5 separate regions of the Homo sapiens genome follow, and all the other regions are linked to region 1. Evidence: promoter capture Hi-C in 16 types of primary human blood cells and fetal thymus (Javierre and others, 2016). All regions are on one chromosome and are shown on one strand. The core of a region is centred on a gene start or on the middle of the fragment in contact, and the rest is flanking DNA. Distances in the headings are between cores, read along the strand shown. Region 1 holds the start of TMEM267 (transmembrane protein 267). Region 2 overlaps ANXA2R-OT1 (ANXA2R overlapping transcript 1). Region 3 holds the start of LOC124900972 (a long non-coding RNA gene). Region 4 overlaps ZNF131 (zinc finger protein 131). Region 5 has its middle 14 kb from the start of NIM1K.

Evidence for each region. Contacts are between HindIII fragments. The CHiCAGO score rates a contact against its expected background, and 5 or more counts as called.
Region 2: a contact is called between a fragment that was not itself captured here and the fragment with the promoter of TMEM267 in region 1, in 4 of 17 cell types (naive CD4 T cells, total CD8 T cells, naive CD8 T cells and 1 more). The highest score is 5.8, in naive CD4 T cells.
Region 3: a contact is called between a fragment that was not itself captured here and the fragment with the promoter of TMEM267 in region 1, in 4 of 17 cell types (total CD4 T cells, activated CD4 T cells, non-activated CD4 T cells and 1 more). The highest score is 6.4, in total CD4 T cells.
Region 4: a contact is called between a fragment that was not itself captured here and the fragment with the promoter of TMEM267 in region 1, in 1 of 17 cell types (total CD8 T cells). The highest score is 6.0, in total CD8 T cells.
Region 5: a contact is called between a fragment that was not itself captured here and the fragment with the promoter of TMEM267 in region 1, in 1 of 17 cell types (activated CD4 T cells). The highest score is 5.1, in activated CD4 T cells.

Annotation. Positions count from the first base shown.
Region 1 is chr5:43,482,480-43,485,172 of GRCh38, forward strand. It overlaps TMEM267 (transmembrane protein 267), which reads right to left and starts at 1,386. Exons shown (of 3, transcript NM_022483.5): 1 at 1,343-1,386. It overlaps C5orf34-AS1 (C5orf34 antisense RNA 1), which reads left to right and starts at 1,440. Exons shown (of 3, transcript XR_007058763.1): 1 at 1,440-1,522. RefSeq lists a silencer at 1,241-1,471 and enhancers at 1,417-2,260, 1,526-1,715. The HindIII fragment of the contact is 3,795 bases long and covers 1-1,785 here.
Region 2 is chr5:43,015,199-43,017,891 of GRCh38, forward strand. The region is part of intron 2 of ANXA2R-OT1 (ANXA2R overlapping transcript 1); the gene reads right to left. Among named protein-coding and RNA genes, the nearest start is that of FLJ32255, 23 kb to the left of the region's middle. RefSeq lists enhancers at 440-489, 2,276-2,515. The HindIII fragment of the contact is 2,115 bases long and covers 281-2,395 here.
Region 3 is chr5:43,096,317-43,099,009 of GRCh38, forward strand. LOC124900972 (a long non-coding RNA gene) reads right to left here and starts at 1,177. Exons shown (of 2, transcript XR_007058762.1): 1 at 1,092-1,177; 2 at 1-471. The HindIII fragment of the contact is 4,508 bases long and covers 1-2,693 here.
Region 4 is chr5:43,150,312-43,153,004 of GRCh38, forward strand. The region is part of intron 4 of ZNF131 (zinc finger protein 131); the gene reads left to right. Among named protein-coding and RNA genes, the nearest start is that of ZNF131, 31 kb to the left of the region's middle. The HindIII fragment of the contact is 9,324 bases long and covers 1-2,693 here.
Region 5 is chr5:43,177,206-43,179,898 of GRCh38, forward strand. No RefSeq gene overlaps it. Among named protein-coding and RNA genes, the nearest start is that of NIM1K, 14 kb to the right of the region's middle. The HindIII fragment of the contact is 3,514 bases long and covers 1-2,693 here.

The DNA of each region.
Region 1 (2,693 bases), core at 136-2,635:
CTTTTACATATTCACTTTTGTTGATAAGGTTCCTTAAGAGTAGTGATCTCTTTTAAACTTGTCATGTTTAAAAATCCAGTGTGCTCAAGGTATTTAATAAATATTCCATTTTACTAATACAAGAGATAATCACATAATAAATCCGCAGCCTATGAACTAAAGATACTGTTTGGGATAGCTTCTCTGACATAACTGACATATTATAAATTCCTCCCTATGACTCGCAGAAGCCATTTTCTGCAATGGCCAAACTTTGTCACACCCCATCCCCCTTATAGCAAATACCACTAACTTTGGGGCCTTCAGAGTATACATAACAGTACTTTTCTCCTTCCTGAATTCCACAAACATATAATTAGCTGGTCACTTTAATTATACGCTATCATGTATTGTTTGCTAATAATCTCTTAGACATTATTTCTGTCAAAACAAATAAGAGCTGATACATTCTCTAAGTAAGTGTCATCTGTTTTAACTTTCCCTCTTCCCCACCAACCTTACACATTATATGCAAAAACCCAAGGTCAAAACACGGTCCAAATTCCAGAAACCGCCTTTATTATGCTTTACCAGTAAGTCTTCTTCACTGAACTGTAGTTGCTGTAAACTTAATATATTTAATTTCTTTAATGGAAAAATATCAAAAGCAGATGCCAAATCTGATGCAACTAACTGACAAAGGAAACACAAATCTTGCTTACTTTCACTGAAACTTTTTATAGCCATCAGATGTCTGCACTTAAAATGTTTAGTTCCTATGCCCATTACGAATAAAACAAAATTCTGTATTTCAACATGTTTCAAGCCTCAGAAGTTCCCAGACATCCTTTTCTGAGTCTGGTGTGATGCAATAATTTTTCAAATGTCATTTAAAAAAATGGGCCAGGCTGCAGGGAAAGGACCATGTCACACTCTCAGCATTCAAGCCTCAAAGGCTCCGGGGCACGAAAGGCTCTTACAACCGGTTAAGGACGGCAATGGGCTCCTTCGGCACGACTCCCGGAACCCCACCCTGGGCCAGAAAAAGGCCAGGGGCGCGGAGCGTAGGCGGAGGGCTGGGGTTCTAGGGATCTAGAAAAAGCGCGAAGCCGGAGGGCGGCGCCAGGGCTCCTCGCAGACCCCAGGGCCGCGGGACGGTGCCGGCTCGTGGGTCACACGCACCCAGGAGGCTCCTGGCTCCCGCGTGGCGGCTGTTCCAGCACGCCCTCCGACCCGCAACCGGACCCTCCAGACATCAGACTCAGTGGTCCCCCACCTCCGGTCTCCCACCTCAGGACGCAGTTCCGCGGCGTCCACCCGGCCCCCTCCCCTCAGTCCCACGCAGCGGCTCAGCCATACCCACCCCGGCTTCTCTGAGTTCAATCCAGCAGCAGCTCGAGCAGCGGCTCCGCCCCTCGGTCGGAGCCATAGAGACGTCGGCTGCCGGCCAGAGTGGCCTCAGACCGCAGCGTCGGCCGAGAGGACGCCGGGATACTGGCCAGCTCCAAGTCGAAAGGAAGCGACGCATGAGTTGTTTGGTGCGGTGGGTAGATACCTCGAGTTTCTCCTCGCCCACCGTAGGCCCCGACCCCTAAAAAGGAAACTTTTGGGACGTCAGAGTGAGAGGAGAAAAGTGTCTTTTTAGTTTAGTTTTGTCAAACCTGAGGATTCGTTTTTCAGTTTAGCCGGAGCTGTGCCGCAAACGTAGCTGCCGACATCCCCACGACGCACCCAAGTGGTGGCCCGGAAGCTGGGGATAGAAAAGTGGCCTCCCCGAATGCCAGGCACACAGGCCTTACTACCAGAAGCTTGAGCTGGGAGCCTCGGCCGTCGCATCTCTAAGGTGCAGCGATACGGCCAACTTCCTTCCGCGAAGCCCTCAGGGTGGGCAACGGAGCTTTTCACCAGACTGAGGGACCGGGCGACCTGGCCGACCGGCGGCTCCTCACCGCCCCCTTGGGGATTTCTTGATAATTCTTTGCCACGATGCGGGCGGATGTTGTGGAGCTACTGTTTGTAGATCGCAGTAGCGTGACAGCACTTAATCATGACTACTAAATCCTCAGAAGTCGAAAAAGCAAGTCCATACAGAATAGTTTGACCCTAATTAAATTGCGCTTACAAGATACAGTTTGTTTACTGGGACTTTGGCTAGGTCCCATCCCGTCTCTGCCTCAGAGTGGTGGTTGCTCTTAGCACCAAGGAAATACCAGCTTGACATTTGACTCTAGGAAGCACAGGCCCAAAAGAAGAGGCCCAAGGAGGGACATTCTTCTTTCCCTTTCCTACCTACAGTTTCTCAAACCAAGTGTCAGATGGAAAGCAAGGGGTGGTATCATCGTAATTATACAGTTGACCATAGAAAATAAATTTCAATCTCAAAGTAAACTCCTAGGCCACCCCCAGAATCTTAGAGTTTCTCAATCATAGAACTCATTTCTTGTCACAGTCTTGGTTCTTAGCCAATGTAAAACACCCAACTGACAGGGAAAATTAAACACCTTTTAACTCCCACACACCTTAAATGAGAATTTAAAGTATCTTTCAGCAAATGTATTTATAATTTTGAGTGCTTTTAGCCATGTTAAGGACAAATTTTCTCCTTCTGAATGCAGTAATAATTTGGCATTACCCTTTTGGCAGTGTGGTACAAAGTCTTATAATCTAGGCTTTATGGAGCTATTGAGGAACAACATAGATGGCTTCATGCAAAC
Region 2 (2,693 bases), core at 88-2,587, 470 kb before region 1:
CGGTCACCAAAATTGGGTAAACTTTTGGAACTTGTCAGTGAATACAGCCCCAAATTACTACAGCAAATGGAACCAGGAAGAAGAAATTCTGTGGAGGAACTAGGAGGAAGAACATGTGTGGAGGTGCATTGGAGTGGTAGTCACAGGGCTCCCCTGCACCTTGCAGGGTCTAGTGGATCCTGCGGTTTATAATCTATCAAACATTTGTAGAGAGTGTTTTACAAAACAAACAGACAAAACAAACAAAAAAACAGACACAAAACCCTCTAAGTTACAGGTAAGCTTAGGACAGGCAGGAAATTGGGAGGGTGAATCTTCAATCCCAGAGACCAACAGCAAATGGTTCATTTTTTGTAGGTGAACCAGAGGCATGGTGGAGCCCTCCGTTGGCACCAAGCAGAATTCTTCACTTTCTTACTCTAGATTACTTACCCTGGGACATTTTTGCCTTTTACTTTCTGTCTAGACTCCTGCATGATCTTTGTTTTTACCTGCTCTACTACAGTTATAACTGTTACCATCTTTTCTGAGCCTAAAATCAAGAACCAATACCTGACAAAGAAGTAGATTGTTAAAACCAAGAGTTTCTCTGTATCAGGAAAGTATTCATATGAATTCCTGCCTCCTAATTTATTAGTTGCCCAGCTTTCTGCAACATACCAACTGACCAGAAGATTCACCTGTACACACCACCTGAGTGTTGGGGACTTTTTCTTTCTTGGCCCTCCCACCTCCCACCGTTTTTCTGTTTTGTGTCACTTTCATTTGGTTAATAATATTCTAACAAGATTTGTCATTATAGTTATCTTAGTTTGATGAGATTTTTCTTCATGAAATTGAACAAAAATATCAGTCTTTGTTAATTCTTTATTATTTATTGTTTCGGATGACACAGCAGGAAGGGAAATAGGAAAGGCTCTACATCATTTGTCGTATGTGCTCCACAATTTGCCCTCAAGTTTGAATCCTAGGTCCTACCACCCACACAAAACTGCCATTGCCAGCCTGCTCAATTCTACCCAATCTCTAGCCATTTTCATACTGCAAAGTTCCTATGACCTCCTCCCAAGGAGCTCAATTCTGTACTTTACCTCTTCCTGACCTCCCTGGAATCCACCCCGCCTCCAACCACACTGTAATTAGAATCTGAATTCTGCAACTACCTTGATGTTAGTCTCTGTAGGGGAGCAGCCTGCAGCCTCCTATGGACTCCCATTAAGACAGGATATTCCTTCCGTCTAGGGGGTGCTGATTGCAACTTTTTTGCTAAGATGAAAAGCTGGAGTCGAAATGAGAAGAGAGGAGTTGTGGCAGGTATTTTGTTTTGCAATGGCTCCAGACTGCTCTTCCGTTTGATAAAGTGGCTGTAACTATGTGGGTGGGAACAGTGCAGTTTTTTCTTTATTCTCCCACCCACAAAACCAGGAGGAAATTGGAAGGGCCTCAAATACCAGGGAATGTTTTGGCTAGCTGAAGACGGGGTAAGGTGGGAAGGAGATATTGAGGCAAACATCTTGGGAGAGGGTGAGAATTACAAGGCCAAAATGGATTTCCTTACCAGGCAGGCATATCTCTGCCTTTGTCCTGGCATGGCCTCTACCTAGGATGCCCCAGGGAAAGGATAGTTTGGTTTGCACAGGAGCAGCAGTGATGAAAATCGGAAATGATGAGTGTGGTTGGAGATATTTGTGGCAGGGTTTGTAGGTCTCTTTGAGGGGGCTCAACTCACAAAGTGCAGATTTTTATTAAAATATAAATGCTTGTGGGAAAGGACATTTTCCTACTGAGCAGTGGCAGTCCCATATTTCTTCTCAGATTTAAAAAAAAAAAGGCCTCAGTCTGAAAAGTGAGGAGATGGAGGATTTGAGCACTTACAAGTTCACCTGCATTGCATTTCCCAGAAGATAGAAATCAATGATGCATTTTGAAGATCATGCTGCTAGAGACAGAGAACCACAACTTGAGCTTTTCTCTGGGCTTAGAGAGGAGGTGTATGTCTCGCTGTCAATTCTACATCCAACGCTGGAATCTTTCAGCCCATTTTCCTCCCCGGCTGTTTTTGAACTACTATCCCCAAATATCGAGGATATCTGACAGAGTGAACCATCAGAATAAGGAGCGATTGCCACAGAGTTCCATCCAGTAGGGGAGGGACTTGATGTGCGGGGCAAGCCTGATGCCCGGGTCAGGCGACTGTGCCTTTCATTCTCCACGGAGATCTTGAACCTAGAGTTTCCAAGTTCCGAAGAGATGCGGTTGTCGACAGCTCTCCTAGAATCTCTGATGGCTCTGAACGGGGACAAAGGTCTAGGGCAGAGGGATGGTGTGGAAGGACCCAGCCACGGCCATTGGAAGAGCAGTTTCCTGCAATGTAATGCTGTTTGCGACCAGCATAAGCTTTAGCTCTCTCCCAGGACGAGCCACATCCGCCCCATTCACGGTCCTTATTCCAGCTCCTTTCCCTCTGCGAATCACACTGGGTGGGTCGCTGGGGGCCTCGGTAATTACGGATTATGGCACAGCCAAGAAAAATACAGGTTTTCTTAAGCCTGAAGCCACTGACTTGAGGGGGGAGAGTAGGAGTAATGCCAGCAGCAGTTTTGTATTTGGTTTTTGTTTTTATATTCTAGTCTCTAGGCCACAAGACAATGTTGCACCCAGTGCCAGTCGATCCGTCACGGCGCCGCAAACTT
Region 3 (2,693 bases), core at 137-2,636, 390 kb before region 1:
GCAGTTAGGGAGTGCATTGGCAGGGCTCAAGGGAGGCTGTGACTTGGGGGCATCTCTGGGGGCATCTGTGTCTCCTCCTGGGTTGCAGTCATCGGTTCCTAGGTGGGTGGTTCTGTGCCCAGCCTAAAGGTGCTAGGCACTCTGGGTTCTTGTCTCAGGTGGGCCCATTTCAGAAGTCCACAGGAATGGGAAAGCAATTCAATGTCCTGGTGGTCCCAAGAGAGGTGACCCAGCTTTGGATAGAAAGCAGGCTGCCAGGGACTTGAATCCTCTTGTACACTGGAACATGCTCTACAGAATCCCAGGCCTCAAGCACAAGTTGTTGAAAGTGCTTCACATCTGTCCTGTTTCAGGTGACAAAGGATGAGTGCCCTTTTTTGTGGTCTTCTGGCTGATTAGGCAGTCCCAAGCAGATAGGGGCAAGCTGGGTGGTGACAGGAAGCCCAGAGCTGATCGCAACAGAAGAATGGCCTGGTGTTATAAACATAAAAGCCAATCACCTTTGATGAAATTTTCTAGAATGAAATCCTTTTGGTGACAGACTGGGTTAGAAGTTGAAAAGAAGAGTATTAGCTTCCTAGAAGGAAGCTCTTTTGGGGGACACTGGCTTGTAGTATGCTGCATGATTTGGGGCATGATTATTGCCCCAAATCACGTAGGTAGTTCTGAAACCCAGGTCTCTTAGCAGAGGAATTCTTGGGGAGATGCCTAAGGAATGGTTTGGGTTTTGGATTAGAGGTGGGGCAGAGATAGTTGTACATTCCTAACTTGGACTTTCACAAGCCCAGTTTTGGCTTTTACTGATGAATTGCTAAGTTAGAAGGATTTCAGAATGTGTGTGTATATGTGTAATAGCAAGAAGCCAAGTTCTCTGGCTGGCTGACTCGGTTATTTTATCATCTCTGAAATGGAAGTGAAATTTGCTCTCATTTTACAAGGTAGCTTTCATGAAGGCATTCCATATAAAAGTGAATATTCAACATAGCATAGCAGAAAATAATTTGGTCAATTGCTATTAATACTAATATCATTATTATTGATTTTATCATGGATTCAAAGATAAAGTAATGAGAACAAATGTAAAACGGTACCTTTCTTGGAGTATTCTGTCTGAAAGTAGATTATGTTTCCTTCTCATATCATAGCCATAATGAAATTGTATTGTAATACGTTTTCATCTGAGTCAAACATTCTGTTTGCAAAAACATCAAGGGGTATGAGAACTAAAAATAAAATCCTAAGGCCTCCAACCAATTGAATGGACCCTCTATTGGCCAAGGGGACCCCAGAGAAACCTGAGTTCCTAGCTATGACAAGACAGGAGGTCAGACATAGCTTGTTATACCTACTCCCTTTTGCAGTTTAAACATGACTGACTAGCATTATTATTACAATAGGGATCATGAGACTGACAGAACAGACTCCTTATAGCATTAAGACACCAAACTATAAATGAGACCTAAGGCTGTGCCAGGCAAGGGTTGAATCACACATCTCTACACTTAAAAAACAAATTATGTTCTAACTACCACAAGGTTTTTTTTTTTTTTTCTAGCAGCTAATCAAGCGCTGGCCTCAAGATAATCACTATTAAAACCATTACAGTTCATCCATCGCCAGACAGTGACTAACTGAGGCCCTTGTTCCACAAGCTATAAATGCAGCTTTGATTGGACAAGAGACTGATTTCAGTAACTTTCTCCTAATAAGAAGACCACCAGCATGCACTGTTCACAGAGGCTGTGCACTTGAGTGCCTTCGTGTCCCTGTTTCACCTTTTGACATATATGGCCTAACTGTAATACATTTGAATGTTGTCTCCACCCCAGAATGAATATGGGCTGTATGTAACAGGCATATTTATTCAGTACACATGCATTAGGAACACATTCATGAATATTTATATGCCTCCTGTAACCTGTTGAATACGTATACTTGGTCAACCCATTCAACATAAATCCCTGTTCCACCCTCCACTTCCTCAAAGTGCCTGCTTCTGTCTTTGGCTGGGGACTACACTTTCCAGCCTGTCAGAATAACCACCCTACAGGCCATAACACATTATAAGAAATAAAATTAAGTCTGTGCATGGTGGCTTACATGTGTAATACCAGCACTTTGGGAGGCCAAGGTGGGCAGATCACTTGGGGCCAAAACCAGCCTGGAGTTCAAAACCAGCCTGGCCAACACGGCAAAACTGCGTCTCTACAAAAAAAAAAAAAGAAAGTTGTCCGGGGACAGTGACTAACACCTGTAATCCCAGCATTTTGGGAGACTGAGGCAGAGGGGTCACCTGAGCCCAGGGGTTTGAGACCAGCCTGGGTAACATGGAGAAACCCCATCTCTACAAAAAGCACCAAAATTAGCCAGGCATGATGGCACATGCCTGTAGTCCCAGCTACTAAGGAGGCTGAGGTGGGAGGATCTCCTGAGTCTGGGGAAGCTGAGGCTACAGTGAGCCATGATTGTGCCATTGCATTCCAGCCTGGGTGATAGAGTGAGACCCTGTCTCAAAAAAAAAAAAAAAAAAAAAAAAAGAAAAGAAAAGAAAAGAAAATCTCCTTTCTAAATTAATAATTGTGTGATTCTTTTAAGTTGACAGATACAAATGCAGATTTTTTTGGTCAAATATCATTCTTACTGTAAAAGTCTGATTAGTTTCAACATTTCACAAGCATGTGTTGATATCCTTC
Region 4 (2,693 bases), core at 85-2,584, 330 kb before region 1:
TTGAAAAGATAGTCCAAAATAAAAGGCTCTCAATGTCTTTGTTTATAAGACATGCAGAAACATTATGAGTATCCATGGAGAGTTGTCTTGTTCCATATCCTTGTTTCTGTATTATCCTGGCTGGTACTGAATTTTCCCCATAAGTACAGCACTTCTTTAGCCGCTCTGATTAATCTGACCGTAGGGACCAGGACCTGGCTGGGTGCGGTGGCTCATGCCTGTAATCCCAGCACTTTGGGAGGCCGAGGCGGGCGGATCATCTGAGGTCAGGAGTTCGAGACCAGCCTGGCTAACGTGGTGGAACCCCATTTCTACTAAAAATACAAAAAAATTAGCTGGGCACGGTGACACATGCCTGTAATCCCAGCTACTCAGGAGGCTGAGGCAGGAGAATTGCTGAGGCTGCAGTGAACTGAGATCGCGCCATTGCACTCTGGCTTGGGCAACAAGAGTGAAACTCTGTCCCAAAAACAAACAAAAAACACAGGGACCAGGACCTAATCCATTCAGTTTTTCTCCTACTGGATTTATTTAAGGATTTATTGAAGTCAACAGAACTTCAAGCAGCAGGATTTGGGCACCCTGCCGTGTTGACCTTAATCATGCACCCACCACACTAAGGTTCATTCTGGACTCAGCCAACTGAACAAATCCCTAGAAAAACAGGTGACTTTCTTTTTCGGTTTCTGTATTGACTTTTCCACTTAGCCCTGGGCATTAGTCTAAGTATAGCAAGATGCTTTACAATTATACAGGCTCCACATTGTCCCATAGGGAGGATGTCTACTAGGGCAAGTTTTTCATTCATAATAAACCTGGCCCCAGTGGCTTGAAGCTGACATAAATGCCTTCCAGAGCCCAAGTGATATCAGTGAACATATCAGCTTAAGTCATGCACAATGTTGTACCACTTTTTTAATTGGATTACTCCTATTAGGGAAAACTGCCCACGGGATGTGCATAAATAAGTCAGTTATTATTCTAGGAAGCATCCCTTTGAGAATTTCTAACCAAGAGTATCCTTAAATGAGACCTCCACAGTCACCCGAGGGCTGCTTGATCTTCCTTAAACACTTGATGGTCTCTTATAACCACCTCTTAGGTGTAAGTCGTCATTTTGTTTCGTTTTGTTTTGTTTTTTTGAGACGGAGTCTCACTCTGTGCCCAGGCTGGAGTGCAGTGACGCAATCTCAGTTCGCTGCAACCTCTGCCTTCTGGGCTCAAGCAATACTCCTGCCTCAGCCTCCCTAGTAGCTGGGATTACAGGCACCTGCCACCTCACCCTGCTAATTTTTGTATTTTTGGCAGAAATGAGGTTTCTCCATGTTGGCCAGACGGGTCTCCAACTCCCGACCTCAAGTAACACACCTGCCTCGGAGTCCCAAAGTGCTGGGATTACAGGGACGAGCCACCGCGCCTTGCCAGTCATCGTATTTTTGTGAGGCAAGGAAATTAGTACCTGGCTTCCACACAAGAAGCACAGTCCCAGGGGCACATAGGAACCCTGAAAGGAAAGTACTATTTGCAATTGTTCGTGCCTCCAAAGTAGGCACGAACCTGCATCAGTGTAGAGGCACAGATTGATATAGCCTCCAATGTAGTCTCCTTTCCCAGTTCAATTAGAATGATTCAGTCTAGTTCTAGTTTTTGGAGAGACTGAGGACAGGACAGTCAGTTGACTTCTTTCCTATTTATTTATTTATTTATTTATTGAGATGGAGTCCCGCTCTGTCGCCCAGGCTGGAGTGCAGTGACATGATCTTGGCTCACTGCCTCTACCTCCCAGGTTCAAGTGATTCTCCTGCCTCAGATTCCCCGGTAGCTGGGACTACAGGCACGTGCCACTAGGTTGAGCTAACTTTTGTGTTTTTAGTGGAGACGGAGTTTCACCACGTTGGCCAGGCTGGTCTCGAACTCCCGACCTCAAGTGATCCGCCTGCTTCAGCATCCCAAAGTGCTGGGATTACAGGTGTGAGCCACCACTCCCAGCCGAGTCTGTCCTATTTATCACAAGCTCCTGAATGCCAGCTGACTTGAGTAGTAACTGTCCACCTCATGGACTGATCTCAGCTATGAGAATGGTAGTGGAGCATGGTGTTTTGCCTGCGACACACAGGAGTCATCCCCAGCTGTTTTTAGAAGATATGTTGGTAAAGTTAAGGGAAACCACTTGGCAGGGAATGGCAAACACAGCAGTCAGTTTAAAAATGCTTATAGCCATTGGAGAGACCTGCAACTGAGCATTTTTCTTAATTTGAAAGGTTCTAGGGGCAGTTCTGAAAGACAAAGGTGGTTTGTTTTGTTTTGTTTTTGGAGACAGGGTCTCACTGTGTCACCCAGGCTGGAGTGCAGTGGTGCAATCACAGCTCACTGCAGCTGTAACTTTCCAGGCTCAGATGATCCTCCCACCTCAGCCTCCCAAAGGAGCTGAGACTGTAGACATGTGCCACCATGCCCAGCTAATCTTTTATAATTTTTTGTGGAGATGGGGTCTTACTATGTTCTCCAGGCTGTTCTTAAACTCCCGGACTCAAGCGATCCTCCCGCCTCAGCCTCCCAAAGTGCTGGTATTATAGGTGTGAGCCACCACACCCAGCTTGACAAAGATTATTGTCCCTCCCTGCCCTATATCTTCTGGAGTCGTAAGATGTTTCTCTCCCTAGATGGCAAGATTGTCATTCCTCCTTCACCTC
Region 5 (2,693 bases), core at 95-2,594, 310 kb before region 1:
AGTAAATTTGATTGCAAAAGTAGAGGAAAACTATCTACTGGTGATAAACTGTATGTTGAATAACATTTTGTAGTTGGAAAGCACTTTATGTAGAACATAAAACAGCTGTTAACAACTGATGTATATTTGCTTCAAGTACTGAAGCAAACTGGATATTTAGTCCTCCAGTGTTCTACTGTATTTGTACTGGAGTTTTAAGATAAGTCTACAGTATGAGGTACCAAGTTGGACAGTAGAGTGTGCAATGATGATCACATAGAAATAAGTCCCAAGTGCACTGAGAACGATGAGAGGCTTTTCTATCTCTACTCCGTTTCAACAGCAATTCTCAGACATCAATTGGGTGTCCAACAATTGAATCTGACACCACCCAGATTTAGAGCAAGTTAAGTGCTCAGTACCACAAAATTGCCCCCACTTCAGACACCAGCCACAAATGCGATCAACAGGCTACCCGCGCTTCTGCCCAGCCAACCGTAAATTTAGGGTTCTTATGGCCTTCCCATCCCCCCAAGTTCAATAATGCATTGAAACAACTCAGGAAAGCACTATACTTAACGACTACAGTAAGTATACAATTCAGGAACAGCCAAATGGAAGAGATGCATAGAGTAAGGTGGATGGAGGGGGTTGTGGAGGAGAATAGTAGAGGTTTCTCTGCCCTCACTTGGCATGCCACTTTCCCAGCATGTTGATGTGTTCAACTCAGAAGCTCCCTTACTGACATTTTATAACCTAGACTCATTAAATTATTGGCCTCCGGGCTCAATCTCCAGCCCCTCTTCTCCCTGGAGGTCTCGGGTGGGGGTAATAGTTGTAGCCCTTTAATACAACTGGTTCCTCTAGTGACCCGTGCCCATCTTGAAGCTATCTAGGGGCCCTCTGCCAGTAGTCATCTCATTAGCATAAACTGGTAAGATCAAAAGGGGCTTGTAATGAATAACAAAAGACATTCTGGAAATTACAAGGATTTTTGGAGCTGTGTGCAAGGAACCAGGGAGAAAAACCCAAATCCATTTTATTTGTTTTGTTTTTAGACAGTTTCACTCTTGTTGCCCAGGCTGGAGTGCAATGGCACGATCTCTGCTCACTGCAACCTCCACCTCCCAGGTTAAGGCGATTCTCATACCTCAGCCTCTCGAGTAGCTGGGATTACAGGCATGCGCCACCATGCCCGGCTAATTTTTTTTTTTTCAGTAGAGACGGGTTTTCACCATGTTGGTCAGGCTGGTCTCGATCTCTCGACTTCAGGTGATCCACCCACCTCAGCCTCCCAAAGTGCTGGGATTACAGGTATGAGCCACCGTGCTTGGCCTATTTTTTTTTTTTTTTTAATTACACCACACCTATCATTTGAGATTGAAAGAAAAACTAAACTGAATACATTAGCAATACATTTAAAAGCTAGACATCTTTTGGATATGTACAAAATCAGAAGGCTCTTGTAGTCTTACCAGTTTAAAAAGGCTACCTGGCTGGACACGGTGGCTCACGCCTGTAATCCCAACACTTTGGGAGGCCAAGGTGGACAGATCACCAGTTCAGGAGTTCGAGACCAGCCTGGGCCAACATGGTGAAACCCCCATCTCTACTAAAAATACAAGATGAACCAGGCATGGTGGCGGATGCCTGTAATCCCAGCTACTCAGGAGGCTGAGGCAGGAGAATCGCTTGAACCCGAGAGATGGAGGTTGCAGTGAGCTGAGATCGTGCCACTGCACTCCAGCCTAGGCCACAGAGCAAGACTCTGTCTCAAAATAAATAAATAAATAAATAAATAAATAAAAATAAAAAGGCTACCATACTCAGATAATACTGAATGTAGGGACATTTTCATGAGAATTTGAATGCTTCTGCTCCCACTAGTTTGAACTTGGAATTAAAGATGTCATTATTGGAAGGGTCCATGAAAGTTCTCTGGACTAACTACCCATTTCATAGTTTGAATAAGCCAACAGGCTTATTAAGCCATAGAGTGAGGCCTAAATGTAGATACCTTTACCAATCAAGTGGATTTTAATTCGCATTTTCAATTTAACATGGGTTGGTTGTTTTAAACAAGTGATTCTATGATCATTAAACTAGTCACACAAAAAGTATTTTATAACTCTTAGATGCAAAATTACAAACAAATGCCTGACCTAGAAAGTTTAGTCTGATTTTGTTGGAGAAAACTAATAGCTTTGAATTCATTAGGTTAACACTGACCTTTGTGTTAATTACATCAGGAGAGGGAGATCTAGATTGTTTTTCTTGTGTAATCTGCTGAGCTGTGCTATACCTCTTACAGGATTTGTCATGAAGAATTCAAATGAGAAGAAGGAATTAAACCCTCATCACCCCATCAGTTAATAAAATCCTTCATAGTTAGAAGCCTAGATATTTATTACTTTAAAACCCATAAAAAACAAACAAAAAAAAACCAGAGGCTGTCATAATAGTCTGAACTTCTTAAAACTCTACTCCCTGCCCTGCAAATGTAACTTCATTAATTCTATTGACATGGTAAAGAAGGCAGCATGTGAATTCAATCTTTTTCTCTTCGCCCTTCCTGCAATTCAATCTTCTCTTTGCCCTTCCTGCAACCCAACATGTCCCTATAAATATTTTTTTTTTTTTTTAGACAGGGTCTCGCTGTGTCACCCAGGCTAGAGTGCAGTGGCACAATCTCGGCTTACTGCAACCTTTAACTT